Regions from separate parts of the Homo sapiens genome. Here region 1 is linked to region 2. The links are contacts of gene promoters, found by promoter capture Hi-C in human tissues and cell types (Jung and others, 2019). All regions are on one chromosome and are shown on one strand. The core of a region is centred on a gene start or on the middle of the fragment in contact, and the rest is flanking DNA. Distances in the headings are between cores, read along the strand shown.

The links. Contacts are between HindIII fragments. The study calls those that stand out against the background at their distance.
Region 1: a contact is called between a fragment that was not itself captured here and the fragment with the promoter of KLRC3 in region 2, in 1 of the 25 tissues and cell types used here (bladder).

The regions. Positions count from the first base shown.
Region 1 is chr12:10,249,009-10,255,719 of GRCh38, reverse strand. It overlaps a transcript of KLRD1 not described here. Among named protein-coding and RNA genes, the nearest start is that of GABARAPL1-AS1, 37 kb to the right of the region's middle. The HindIII fragment of the contact is 5,787 bases long and covers 1,247-6,711 here.
Region 2 is chr12:10,418,827-10,425,299 of GRCh38, reverse strand. It overlaps KLRC3 (killer cell lectin like receptor C3), which reads left to right and starts at 4,705. Exons shown (of 7, transcript NM_002261.3): 1 at 4,705-4,936; 2 at 5,336-5,434; 3 at 6,212-6,256. The coding sequence starts at 4,750. The HindIII fragment of the contact is 7,239 bases long and covers 750-6,473 here.

The DNA.
Region 1 (6,711 bases), core at 2,891-5,390, 170 kb after region 2:
TAAAAGAGTAAACTCATAGAAAGCATTATTTCCTATCACAATGGAATGAAACTAGAATTCAGTAACAGAAGTAAAACTAAAAATTTGAAAATTAGTTAGAATGTAAACAACACTTTTAAATAACCAATGAGTCAAAGAAAAAATACAAGGGAAATTAGAAAATATCTTAAAGCTAATGAAAATAAAAACACAACATACCAAAACATACGGGATGCAACAAAAGTAGTGCTTAGAGGCAAATTTATATCTTTAAATACATTGGAAAGAACATCTTAAACCAACAACCTAACTTCATCCCTTAAGTAACTAGAAAAAGGAAAATAAATTAAACCCAACGCCAGCCAAATGAACAATAAATACTAGAAGGTATGTACATAAAATAGAGTGGAAAATAGAGAAAATAAACAAAGCCAAAAGTTGGACCTTAGAAAAGATTAACAATATTAGTAAACCTTTAGCTACAATGAATAATTTTTAAAAGTCCTCAAATTACTAGTAGATATAAGACACTGCAGTTTAGCTCTTTGAGGAATCTCCGTACTGCTTTCCACAAGGGTTGAACTAATTTACACCCCCACTAACAGTATATAAATATTCCCTTTTCTCTGCATCCTCACCAGCATCTATTATTTTTTGACTTTTTAATAATAGGCATTCTGACTGATGTGAGACAGTGTCTCATTGTGGTTTTGATTTGCATTTTTCTAATGATCAGCGATGTTGAGCTTTTTTCATGTGCTTGTAGGCCACAAGTATGTCTTCTTTTGAGAAGTGCCTGTTCATGTCCTTTGCCTACTTTTCTTTTTTTTTTTTAATTTATTTATTTTTGAGACTGATCTCGCTCTGTTGCCTAGGCTGGAGTGCGGTAGCGCAATCTCAGCTCACTGCAATCTCCGCCTCCTGGGTTCAAGTGATTCTCCTGCCTCAGCCTCCAGAGTAGCTGGGATTACAGGCAGGCGCCACCACGCTTGGCTAATTTTTCCTTGTATTTTTACATGAGACAGGGTTTCACCATGTTGACCAGGCTGGTCTCAAACTCCTAACCTCAGGTGATCCACCAGCCTCAGTCTCTCAAAGTGCTGGGATTACAGGTGTGAGCCACCACGCCCAGCCTTTTGCCTACTTTTTAATGGGGTTGTTTGTTTTTCTCTGGTAGATTTGTTTAAGTTCCTTCGAGATGCTGGATATACATTAGTCCTTTGTCAGGTGCATAGTTTGCAAATATTTTCTCCCAGTCTGTACATTGTCTGTTTACTCTGTTGATAGGTTTTTTTTTTTTTTTTTTTTTGAGACGGAGTGTGGCTCTGTCGCCCAGCCTGGAGTGCAGTGGCGCGATCTCGGCTCACTGCAAGCAAGCTCCGCCTCCCGGGTTCACGCCATTCACCTGCCTCAGCCTCCAGAGTAGCTGGGACTACAGGCGCCCTCCACCGCGCCCTGCTAATTTTTTGTATTTTTAGTAGAGACGGGGTTTCACCACGTTACCCAGAATGGTCTCGAGCTCCTGACCTCGTGATCCACCCGTCTCGGCCTCCCAAAGTGCTGGGATTACAGGCGTGAGCCACCATGCCCTGCCCTCTGTGGATAGTTTCTTTTGCTGTCCAGAAGCTCTTAAGTTTCATTAGATCCCACTTGTCAATTTTTGCTTTTGTTGCGATTGCTTTTGGTGTCTTTGTCACGAAATCTTTGCCCATTCCTGTCTGTGTCCAAGATGGTATTGCCTAGGTTGTTTTCCAGCGTTTTTATAGTTTTAGACAGAACTACCATTCAATTCAACAATCCCATTACTGGGTATATACCCAGAAGAATATAAATCCTTCTACCACGAAGACACATGCATGTGAATGATAACTGCAGCACTTGTCGCAATAGCAAAGACTTGAATTCAACCTAAGTGCCCATCAATCACAGATTGAATAAAGAAAATGTGGTACATATACACCATGGAATACTGTGCAGCCATGAAAAAAGAATGAAATCCTGCCTTTTACAGGAACATGGATGGAGCTGGGGGCTACTATCCTTAGCAAACTAATGAAGAAACAAAACTAAACACCTCATGATCTCATTTATAAGTGGGAGCTAAATGATAAGAACTTATGAACACAGAAAAGGAAATCACAGACACCATGGTCTACTCAAGGGGATAGGGTGAGAGAAGGGAGAGGAGCAGAAAAGGTATCTATTGGGTACTGGGTATAATGCCTGAGTGATGAAATAATCTGTACAACAAACCCCCATGACACATGTTTACCCATGTAACAAACCTTCACAGGTAGCCCCAAACCTAAAATAAAAGTTAGAAAAAAAAGACACTGTGAAAGAAAAGATGCCCGAATCCGAAGACATTGCAATGAAAACTAAACAAAATGAAACACATTAAAGAGCATTTAAAAAGTGTATGAACGGAGTATCAGTGACCTGCGGGACAGCTGCAAGGGGCCCAACGTACGCCTAAAAGCAGTCTCTGGATACATAGGAGGGGGCAAAAAGTATTCAAAGAACTTACAGTTGAAAACTGAGATTTAAATACTGAAATTGAAATGTTTCCAAATTGCTAGAACTATAAGCATATAGATCTAGAAAGTCCACGAACCCCAAGCAAAAGAAACATAAGAAAATCTACTTACATGTACATTATAATTAAGTTCTTCAAAACTAGTGATAAAAAAATATTAAAAGCATTAGATAAGAAATGTTTTATGCAGAGGATTGTCAAACTTTGTTTATTAAAAGTTAAATTATTCATCTTTTTTTTTTTTTTTTTTACAACTGCCCACTGACTCACTCAGGACAGCAAAGCCAGTAATGCTATGTTCAATCAAGCATTCTAGGCCCAAGTCACAACTCACACCACTGCACTCCCAACCCTGGTTCATTCCCTTTTGTGTACACACAGCTGCGATAGTTTTACTCCCTACCACCCCCACCATTCTTCTTCAGTGTCATGTCTTGGTTCACTTGAATCACCTTCCTCTGAAAGTTATTCCTCTTTCTCAAAGATGAAGTCTTCATGTTCATATACATTCTCAAGACACATCCTCTCATGGAATCTACTGTCTTCCCTGTAATGGTCATTCATTTAGTGCCCTTGCTTGTTTAAGACAACTAATGATTCTATACAATCATGAATTCAAATCTTAAGTAACATGAGGGAAGAAGAACTAACTTCTTATAACTTGAGAATGTGGTGGGGTTTGTTTGTTTGTTTGTTTTTTGGAGACAAGTTCTCATTTTGTTGCTCAGGCTGGAGTACAGTAGCGCAATCACAGCTCACTGCAGCCTCAACCTCCAAGGCTTGAGTGATTCTTCCACCTCAGCTTCCCAAGCAGCTGGGACTACAGGTGCACATCGCCACGCCCAGCTAAGTTTTGTATTATTTATAGAAAATACGTAATACACCTGCACATCACCACACACAGCTAATTTTTGTATTATTTATAGAACATACATTTATAGAACATAAATATGTTGCTGAAGCTGGTCTCAAAATCCTGAGTTCAAGGGATTCACCTACATCAGCCTCCCAAAGTGCTGGGATTATAGGTGTAAACCACCATACCTGGCCTAGTGTCTTTTCAATGACAAAAACAAGAGTAAGATTATCCACTTCAATAAGCAAAAAGCAGTAATTTAATTTGATGTGATTTTTAAGAAAATCTTTGTTTCCTCTGAGGAACTGGTATGTTGTCTCTCCAGAATTCAGGAGAAATGTGTAATTGACCAGACCAGAGGTCCCCAAGCCCCAGGCCACAGACCGGTACTGTGGCCTGTTAGGAACCTGGAGCACAGCAGGAGGTGAACAGGGAATGAGTGAGCAAAGCTTCACCTATATTTACAACCACTCCCCATTGCTGGCATTACCACCAGAGCTCTGCTTCCTGTCAGGTCCGCAGAGGCATTTGATTCTCATAGGAGCACAAACCCTGTTGTGAACTGCACATGCGAGGGATCTAGGTTGTGTGCTTCTTATGAGAATCCAATACCTGATGATCTGTCACTGTCTCCCGTCACCCCCAGATGGGACTATCTAGTTGCACAAAAATAAGCTCAGGGCTCCCACTGATTCTACATTACGGTGAGTTGTAGAATTATTTCATTATATATTACAATGTAATAATAATAGAAATAAAGTGCACAATAAATGTAACGCACTTGAACCATCCCAAACCATCCCCCTCTTGCTCCCATCCATAGAAAAATTATCTTTCATGAAACCGGTCCCTGGGGCCAAAAAGTTTGGGGACCACTGGACCAGACCATTCCTTTTTGTGTTTGCCAAAGAAATAGCATAAAAGGGCTGGGCATGGTGGCTCATACCTGTAATCCCAGCACTTTAGGAGGCTAAGACCGGAGGATTACCTGAGGTCAGGAGTTTGAGACCAGCCTGGACAACATGGTGAAGCCCTATCTCTACTAAAAATACAAAAACTAGCCCGGCTTGGTGGTGCTTGCCTGTAATCGCAGCTACTCGGGAGGCCAAGGCAGGAGAATTGCTTGAACCTGGGAGGCGGAGGTTGCAGTAAGCCAGGATCGCACCACTGCACTCCAGCCTGGGCAACAGAGTGAGACCCCATCTCAAAAAGAAAATAGTATAATAACAAATAATCACTCACTGTCCCAAACTCCAGAGTGAAAGGTTAGTATGTTAACATCTGTAGTTAATGCTAGTGAGGCAACATATGTTAGCTCCAGTTTATGGAACTTCAGAAATCCCGATTACAAAATTATGACTACATTAAATAAGTCGTTGATAATGATGGTAAATGAACGAAACATGGCACTTGCGGCTGCTTTCAATTATCCTTTCCTTAACCAGAAAACATGCTCTTAAATACCTGAGACTTTCTCCTGGTCTGGATCTTCTCTAGCTTCACAGACCCAAGACCCTTTATATTACCTTAATACGCTATCCATTTTTAAAGTATTATGTGACTTTGAAACCACTTCGTACTGACTTGCCTCAACATATAATGGAAGTTAATAATCAAAGGGGTGTTGCAAATGTAAATTTTAAAATGTGTTTAAAAGGTAACTGATAAATTAATACCCAAGTTTTATCTAGGTCAAGCAGAAAACTTTGGGACAAATACAAAAATTAGCCTGGCATGGTGGCGGGAGCCTGTAGTCCCAGCTGCTCTGGAGGCTGAGGTAGGAGAATCAGTTGAACCCAGGAGGCAGAGGTTGCAGTGAGCGGGAGATTTTGCCACTGCACTCCAGCCTGGGCAACAGAGTGAGACCCCGTCTCAAAAAAAGAAAAGAAAAGAAAAGAAAAGTTTGGAACAATGTGACACAGAAGCAGATGTTCTTAACCTTCTCTTTGTCTAGCTACAGAACCCAAACCAAGGGGAAGGATCTTTAACAGGAATAATACATGTTACTGAAAGGGCTCTGGCGCCTTTGGGTATGCTAAAATGTTTGGGGCCAAATGACTCAGGGGAACTTTTTTCTTTGCTCATCCTTTCTTGGTTTCCAGCACTCATAACAGCCCCCCTAAAAAAAAAAAAAAAAAAAAAAAAAAGCAAAACGTTATCACCACCTTGGGAAATGGTAAGGACTTAAGAGAGAGAGTGGTTGAGGGGATGTAAATGTTTCCTTCTAGGTTGACAGCCTAACGCACCAGGATAGAAATAAAGGCAGAGACTCAGGACAGAAGTTGAATTCCTAGGAAATCTGAGCATGACGGACAACGTATGTACAACAAGTGATCCTAATGGTCTTCGAGAAAACAAAAGGACTACTATACTCCTCACTTTGTTAGAGTTGAAAACCATAAAGCTAGAGTGATGGCAGCTCCTGCGAACTCTGATGAAACCACAAAGGAAGTCATTGGGTCAAGAAATGCATTACGAGCCACCATGGGACACTACCACCCTTCTGCTTAGCAGAGCTCAGAGTAAGGGTCCCTTCCTGTGTGAAAGGCACTGACTGCTACAGCCTCCAGGAGTCCTTCTCACTGCATATGTGTGATAAATGTGAGATTCATTATTTTGTTCTTTGTAGAAAATTAAGTATGAAATAATTTCTTACTCTTTTTTCAAGTTGTTTCAAGGATGCTTCTCAATAAATTCTTTTTTAAAAAATTGACGATTTCCCCAAGAGTTTCTCCACTGGTTGCAAACCGTATATTTAATTTTCTTGGAAGCATTTTGATATATGATAAGGGCACAAGTTTGATACCAGAGAAGGCAAGATATTAGTTTGAGTTGTGTCACTTACTATATTTATAACTTTGGTCCAGTTGAATTCCCTAATCTACTTTTTCCACATCTGTAAAATGAAGGGGATAAAAGTATCCTCATCACAAGGTTTTTCTAGGGATTGAATGAGAAAGCATTGTTAACTGTTGTTATTGTTTCTTCTGTCTTCTTTGTTTGCAATTCAATACTGTTTCTCCTTTGGTGCAGTTTTACTATTTCTCTTTCTTTCATGAAATACCTTATGTATAAAATCCTCATAATGTGGCAGAATCAAGGACTGCCTCAGTAGTTTACTGTAAGGGATGTTAGCAACTCCCCTGTCCCCTGTTAAGCCTAATTTAGAATCTCCCCCACCGGTTGGCTGATGCCAATGACTCCATGTTTGGAAATACATTTACTTTGTTTATGGGTAGAATAATAGAGGACACATTATCCGTCGTATATAGTTTATTGTATGTGAGTTTAAACCTGATATAATTATAGATGCAAATGGAATTCAAAATTGATATTTTCA
Region 2 (6,473 bases), core at 3,456-5,955:
GACAATGTTATTGGTTTATGTATTTACTGTAGTATACTTTTAATTATTATTTTAGAGTGTACTCCTTCTACTTCTATAAAAACAGTTACCTGAAAAACAACCTTGGGCAGGTCCCTCAGGAGGAATTCCAGAAGAAGGCACTGTTACCATAGGAGAGGACAGCTGCACGTGTGTTATTGCCTGAACCTTCCAGTGGGACAAGATGTGGAGGGGATGACAGTGAGATTGATCTTGCTGACACTGCGTAGGCTTAGGCTAATGTATGTTTTCGTGTCTTCGTTTTTAAAAAAAGTTTAAAAAGAAAAAAATTAAAATGAAATATAGAAAAAAGCTCATAAAAAGAATATAGTTGTTAAGACTGTGCAATTTGTGTTTTTAAATAAAGTGTATTTAAAAAGAGGCAGAAGATTTTTAAAATATGAAAAATTTAGAAACCAACAAAGGTGCAGTAAAGTTAATTTATTATTAGCTCAAGAAAAAAAGTGCTGCATAAATATAGTGTACCCTAGTGTACAGTGTATAAATCCTACAGTAGTGTGCTGTAATATCCTAGGCCTTGACTTTCACTTGCTACTTACTCACTGACTCACCCAGGGAAAATTCCATTTCTGCAGTCTTCATTCGTAGTAAGTGCCCTATAAAAGGATGCCATTTTAACCTTTTTTTAAACCATATTTTACTGTTTTTTTGGTTTATATATAATTAGATAAACAAAAATTACCATTCTGGTCACTGCTTGCATTATTCACAACAGTAACATATTGTACAGGTTTGTATCCTTGGAGCAATAGCCTATCCCATATAACACAGGAGTGTAGTAGCTGTACCATCTAGGTTTGTGTAAATAAACTCTTTGATGTTGACACAGGGATGAAATTGCCTAAAGACATATTCCTCAGAGGTATCCCTGTCATTATGCAAACAATAATGGTATAACACTAATGGAAAACACCAAGTGGATGTTTGTAGCAATAGTAGACATCAGCACTTCAGACTTAAATAGAAAACATCAGTGAATGATACATTATGTGGCATCTTTAGTGAATGATTTTATTGTTTTAGTTCCATAACGTGACTAATAGAAAAAGTAACCTAGTTTATGAAAATGTAATAAAATGTAAATATAAATATACTTGTAATAGAAAAAGATACAATATGAACACAAGCATATATGCATATGACATTATTAATTAATTTTGTGAAAATATATTACAATATATTTTACAGAAAAACATATATACCTAGCCACCATTAGCCATTCTGATGGAAGGGCAAATAATAATTCTCATTGCAAAGAAATAAATATGGGTTTAAATTCCAACTTTTTAGATTTTAGAGAATAGCCGGGCACAGTGGCTCACGCCTGTAATCCCAGCACATTGGAAGGCCGAGGCAGACGGATAACGAGGTCAGGAGATCAAGACCATCCTGGCTAACACGGTGAAACCTCGTCTCTACTAAAAATACAAAAAAAATTAGCTGGGCCTGGTGGCACACGCCTGTAATCCCAGCTACTCAGGAGGCTGAGGCAGGAGAATCGCTTGAGCCCAGGAGGCAGAGGTTGCAGTGAGCCGAGATGGCACCACTGCACTCCAGCCTGGGCAATAGAATTATGCATAAACATTCCCCCTTTTCTTGATAGAAAATAAATGATGAAAAGATTTTTATTTAATACAACTAGATAATTTATAGTTTTTTCCCTGATGTTCGTATACCATTTATTTTTTAAAAGTTTTTGTTTATTTGTTTTTGAGACAAGGTCTGGCTCTGTTGCCCAGGCTACAGTGCAGTGACACTAACAGTTCACTGCAGCCTTGACCCCCAGGGCTCAAGCGATCCTCTCACCTCAGCCTCCAGAGCAGATGGGACTACAAGCAAACACCAGCATCCTCGGCTAATTCATATATATATATATATATATATATATTTTTTTTTTTTTTTTTTTTTTTTTTAAGAGATGGGGTTTCATCCTGTGTATCATGCTAACCTCAAACTCCTGAGCTCAAGTGATCCTGGAGTGCTGGGATTACTGACATGAGCTACCATGCCCGGACATTCATGTATCATTTTACTTGTGTTTTAAAAAATCTCCATTTTCTGGCCTCCCCATTTTTAAGTAGGTGATGTTTTAAAAATTGCTTTAACCTCCCTTCATAGTTTAACTTAGGCTTTAGTCATTTACAACAAATATTTCTATTAAAATGCAGACAGTAAGTCATGATTAGAGAAGGAACCGGTGAACAATATAGTAGGTAGTTTTTTTATTATTTCAGTCTCTGGCATAGAGATATAGCTCAGTATTGTTTAATATTTTATTCTTTCAAGAGACATTTATTTTAATCAGGAATCTGGTTAACTTATATAAAGAAGAAAAATTGAATGAGGGAATTTTAAGAACTAAGGCAAAGAAAGCAAGAAGATAAGTTTGAGAATGCATGTCAGTTACAATTAAGTTGAAAATGCAGCATTTTCTCAAAATAGTGACAAGTACATTAAATTCCTATTGATAAAATCATTATTTAAATTTTGTTATTATGATAGCAGTGATATTATAGGGGTATATGATAAAAAAGTATATAATGTCAAGTTTCAGCCACCTTGTCTAAATGTAGAAAGCAACCACCTAAGATCCTTTTGAAAAGTTACAAAACTTTGGTGTTTGTGACTGAGATGGAAACAATCACCAGCATGGATCAAATCTCTGCTCTCCCCTCATCTTGTTGACCATAAAAATAATTTCTAAGAGGCACTTTAAAATGGACAAACTAAATGACACACTAGCCACCCAAAGTCTCCTATATTCTAAAGTGTGTGATGAGACAAACTGATTCAAAATAGCCCTAGGGTGAGAATTTCCTGTTCAAATCTGCAGTGACACATTGGTGAGGAATCTACTTTTTCCACTCTTGCCTCACTCTGACCCTTCAAAGGGCAGTCTGTGAAGATCACAGATAACGTTTGTGTCTTTCAGAGGTAACCTGACCTCTCCACTGAAGGGCGTGTGGCTTTCTGATGACAGTAGGTAAGTGTTGCTCCTCTCCCTGTTTCTCTACTAGCTCATCTCATTTAGTAGAAGATTGTAAGTACTGGCTGTGATGCACCTGAGGTAAAGTTGATATAGACGAAAATCAAGGTAGAACTTTATTCACGTGAATAATTCAAGGTGAAAAACGAGCCAAAATATAAACTATGTTTAAGGATTTCTTAGAGTATTCACATCATTGCCGCTGGAGAATCACTCAAGTAGATGCATACATAATAATAGGTTTGCCAATCCATGTAATTTAGAGTGAAACCCATAACCATCATGACAATGAACAATTAATTTTGGATTTTGTAATCATTACTGGTTTAATTGTATATTATATTTAGACCAAACTTTAAAAATAAATTTTTAATATGGATACATCAAATTGTGAATGTCAAACATTAATTCTCAATCACACACCTAGATTTCATGAAAGCAGTTTTAATTTTTAATAAAAGTAAGGATGAAATCATTTCCATAAAATGCAAATCTGACCTTAATTATAAACAATTGGAAGACTTAAAACAATTGAACCAAACATTGCAAAAAAGATGTACCACACTGACATGAGACGCCTAATTAATGAGTTATTTTAACACACTCTAATGCAAATCAGAAATAATAAAATGGCAATTGTGTTAAAAATAGTTGAAATATCTATTATGTATTCAGTGCTAATATGTGCCAGGTTGTGTGTTTAGTTTTCTACATACATTATACTTTATAAATTATTTTTCCCAATGTAGATTAGTAAACTAGGTTAGTAGACACTAAGTAATTTAGTACAGGTCACATATTACAACTTGCAAAGCTAGAATTAATTGTAGTCTCACTGACTACAGAGCTCATTGACTAGATTATTAAATTACATTATCTGAACTATTACAATTACTTATACAACCAAAGCGACCCTCACTGACTTATACAATCATAGGAGCTTTCTGAAAGTTTGATTGGACACTATTCTTCCATAGACGGCCCACACGTTTATTTATCATTTTAAGTTTTCCTATTTTAGTCATTAAATCAATTACCAATTTCTTGTGTAAAAGCAGCAATTTAAAAATATATTATGTTTTCAATAGTATTTATGCATACAGTAATGTAATGTTTTACAAGATATATTTTTAAAATTTTAATGATTTTTCTGATTTCCTAATTTAGAAAAATAATCAGTTGACAATACCTCAGGTCCTTTTAATAAATGAATGTAACTCACTAACAATGTATGTTAGTATAAGAAGTTACTCTGTATGCTGACAGAACTATTTTATCTTATGGCACACAATCATTAACCATCAATGACTCTTAAAACTATGGTAAAATTAGTGTATTTCTAAATACAGTATTTTAATTGTTAAAGTATGCAGTCTATTGGTGTTAAACATTTTTGAAGAATCTAACCTTAATTTAATACCAATTTTTTTCATGAACTTCCTAGTTCTCACAAGTTTAATGTTTTTATTGTTCCCACTAGTAATATTATGTCAAATACAGAATACATCTAAAAAATGGCCAATTATATCGTGTGATTTTTGTTTAAAGCTTTAGGAAATTAGTAGCAGAATTTTACCTAGGTTAACAGCAAAGTAAACATTATTACTCAGCCCCAACACATGCACATTGCCTATACCAGGGATCCTGTCAAAATATACACCATTTATAGCTTCTTAAGTGCAGTTATCATAGAGCACAGTCCCTCACATCACACAGCTGCAGAGATGAGTAAACAAAGAGGAACCTTCTCAGAAGTGAGTCTGGCCCAGGACCCAAAGTGGCAGCAAAGGAAACCTAAAGGCAATAAAAGCTCCATTTCAGGAACCGAACAGGAAATATTCCAAGTAGAATTAAACCTTCAAAATGCTTCTCTGAATCATCAAGGGATTGATAAAATATATGACTGCCAAGGTAAAACATTAAATATATCTTCAATGTTATTGTTCTGGGATGTGCAGTTGAATGCAGAAGGGTGAGGAAAGATTAGGGAATATTTTACACTTGTGAGAATCAGAGTTCATAAATGGGATCTAATATTCTAATATGAAATCAGAAGACTAATTTTATTCAGGCATTGTTCAACTGTAATCAACTGTAATCTGCAATCCACTCATGGAACATTACATTTACTGAAAATGAAATGGTATATTCTGAGAGAAAGATTACTAGAGTAGATGTAGATTTAGCGGCCAGAGTTTATCATTATGTTTCCCTGTGCATGTGGGTTCTCTAGTATGTAATTCTCTAGTATGTAATCCTAATCAACTCTCTATCTCCCCTCTCTCAGTGCCTCTATTTCTCTCCCTGCAGGTTTACTGCCACCTCCAGAAAAGCTCACTGCCGAGGTCCTAGGAATCATTTGCATTGTCCTGATGGCCACTGTGTTAAAAACAATAGTTCTTATTCCTTGTAAGCATATTCTTGAAAGATTAGAAGGGAACGTTTTACTTTAATGCTTGGAAGTGCCTCAAAATATTTCATACTGTTGAAGAATAGAACTCTTATTTTACTGTTTCTTTCAAAGATCTATTACTTCATTTATTTTTATAGAAAAAGTTAATTTTATTAAAGATTGTCCCCATTTTAAATAACACACAAAGTTTCAAAGTAAGAAACTAAACTCATTATGGTTTATCTAAATATTACTTTTTATAAAAATCATTTTAATTTTTCTATTACAGTCCTGGAGCAGAACAATTCTTCCCCAAATACAAGAACCCAGAAAAGTACATTTTTATTTTCAAAGTTCTGATATTAGTACAATTTGGAACCAAAATAATATGGTTATTCTGAATTTTTCACAACATAAATAACAAAATCATTGTAGAGAACATGTGTTTATTTTTTGTGTGTAATCTATATATATGTATATACATACACACACAAAGATATTTTCTGATTTCATAATTCAAAGGCATGCTATAGAAGAAAAGTATTTAGAAAAACTAATTTTTGAAAGTGGTTACATCAAATACTACAAGAGATGGTGAAGTTTTGTGCTAAAGTCTTTAAAAATGTTTATTTCAAAGGTCTATTACTTTATATATTTTTATAGAAAAAGTTAATTTTATTAAAGATTCTCCCCATTTTAAATAACACACAAAGTTTCAAAGTAAGAAACTAAACTCATTATGGTTTATCTAGATATCAGTTTTTATAAAAATCATTTTAATTTTTCTATTACAGTCCTGGAGCAGAACAATTCTTCCCCGAATGCAAGAACCCAGAAAGGTACATTTTTATTTTCAATGCTCTGATATTAGTACAATTTATATTTTGTGTCTGTTTTAAGGCATGTAAAAGAATAGTGGCATTTTTGCAGAAAATAAGCCATAAATTCAGCCATAAATATTTATAAAGAAAGATTATGAGGCAGCATTTCCTTTTCTCCAGTAAGTAGAAATACTCACTTAAAATCATTCTACCCTCTTTCTCCCAATTAACAGAA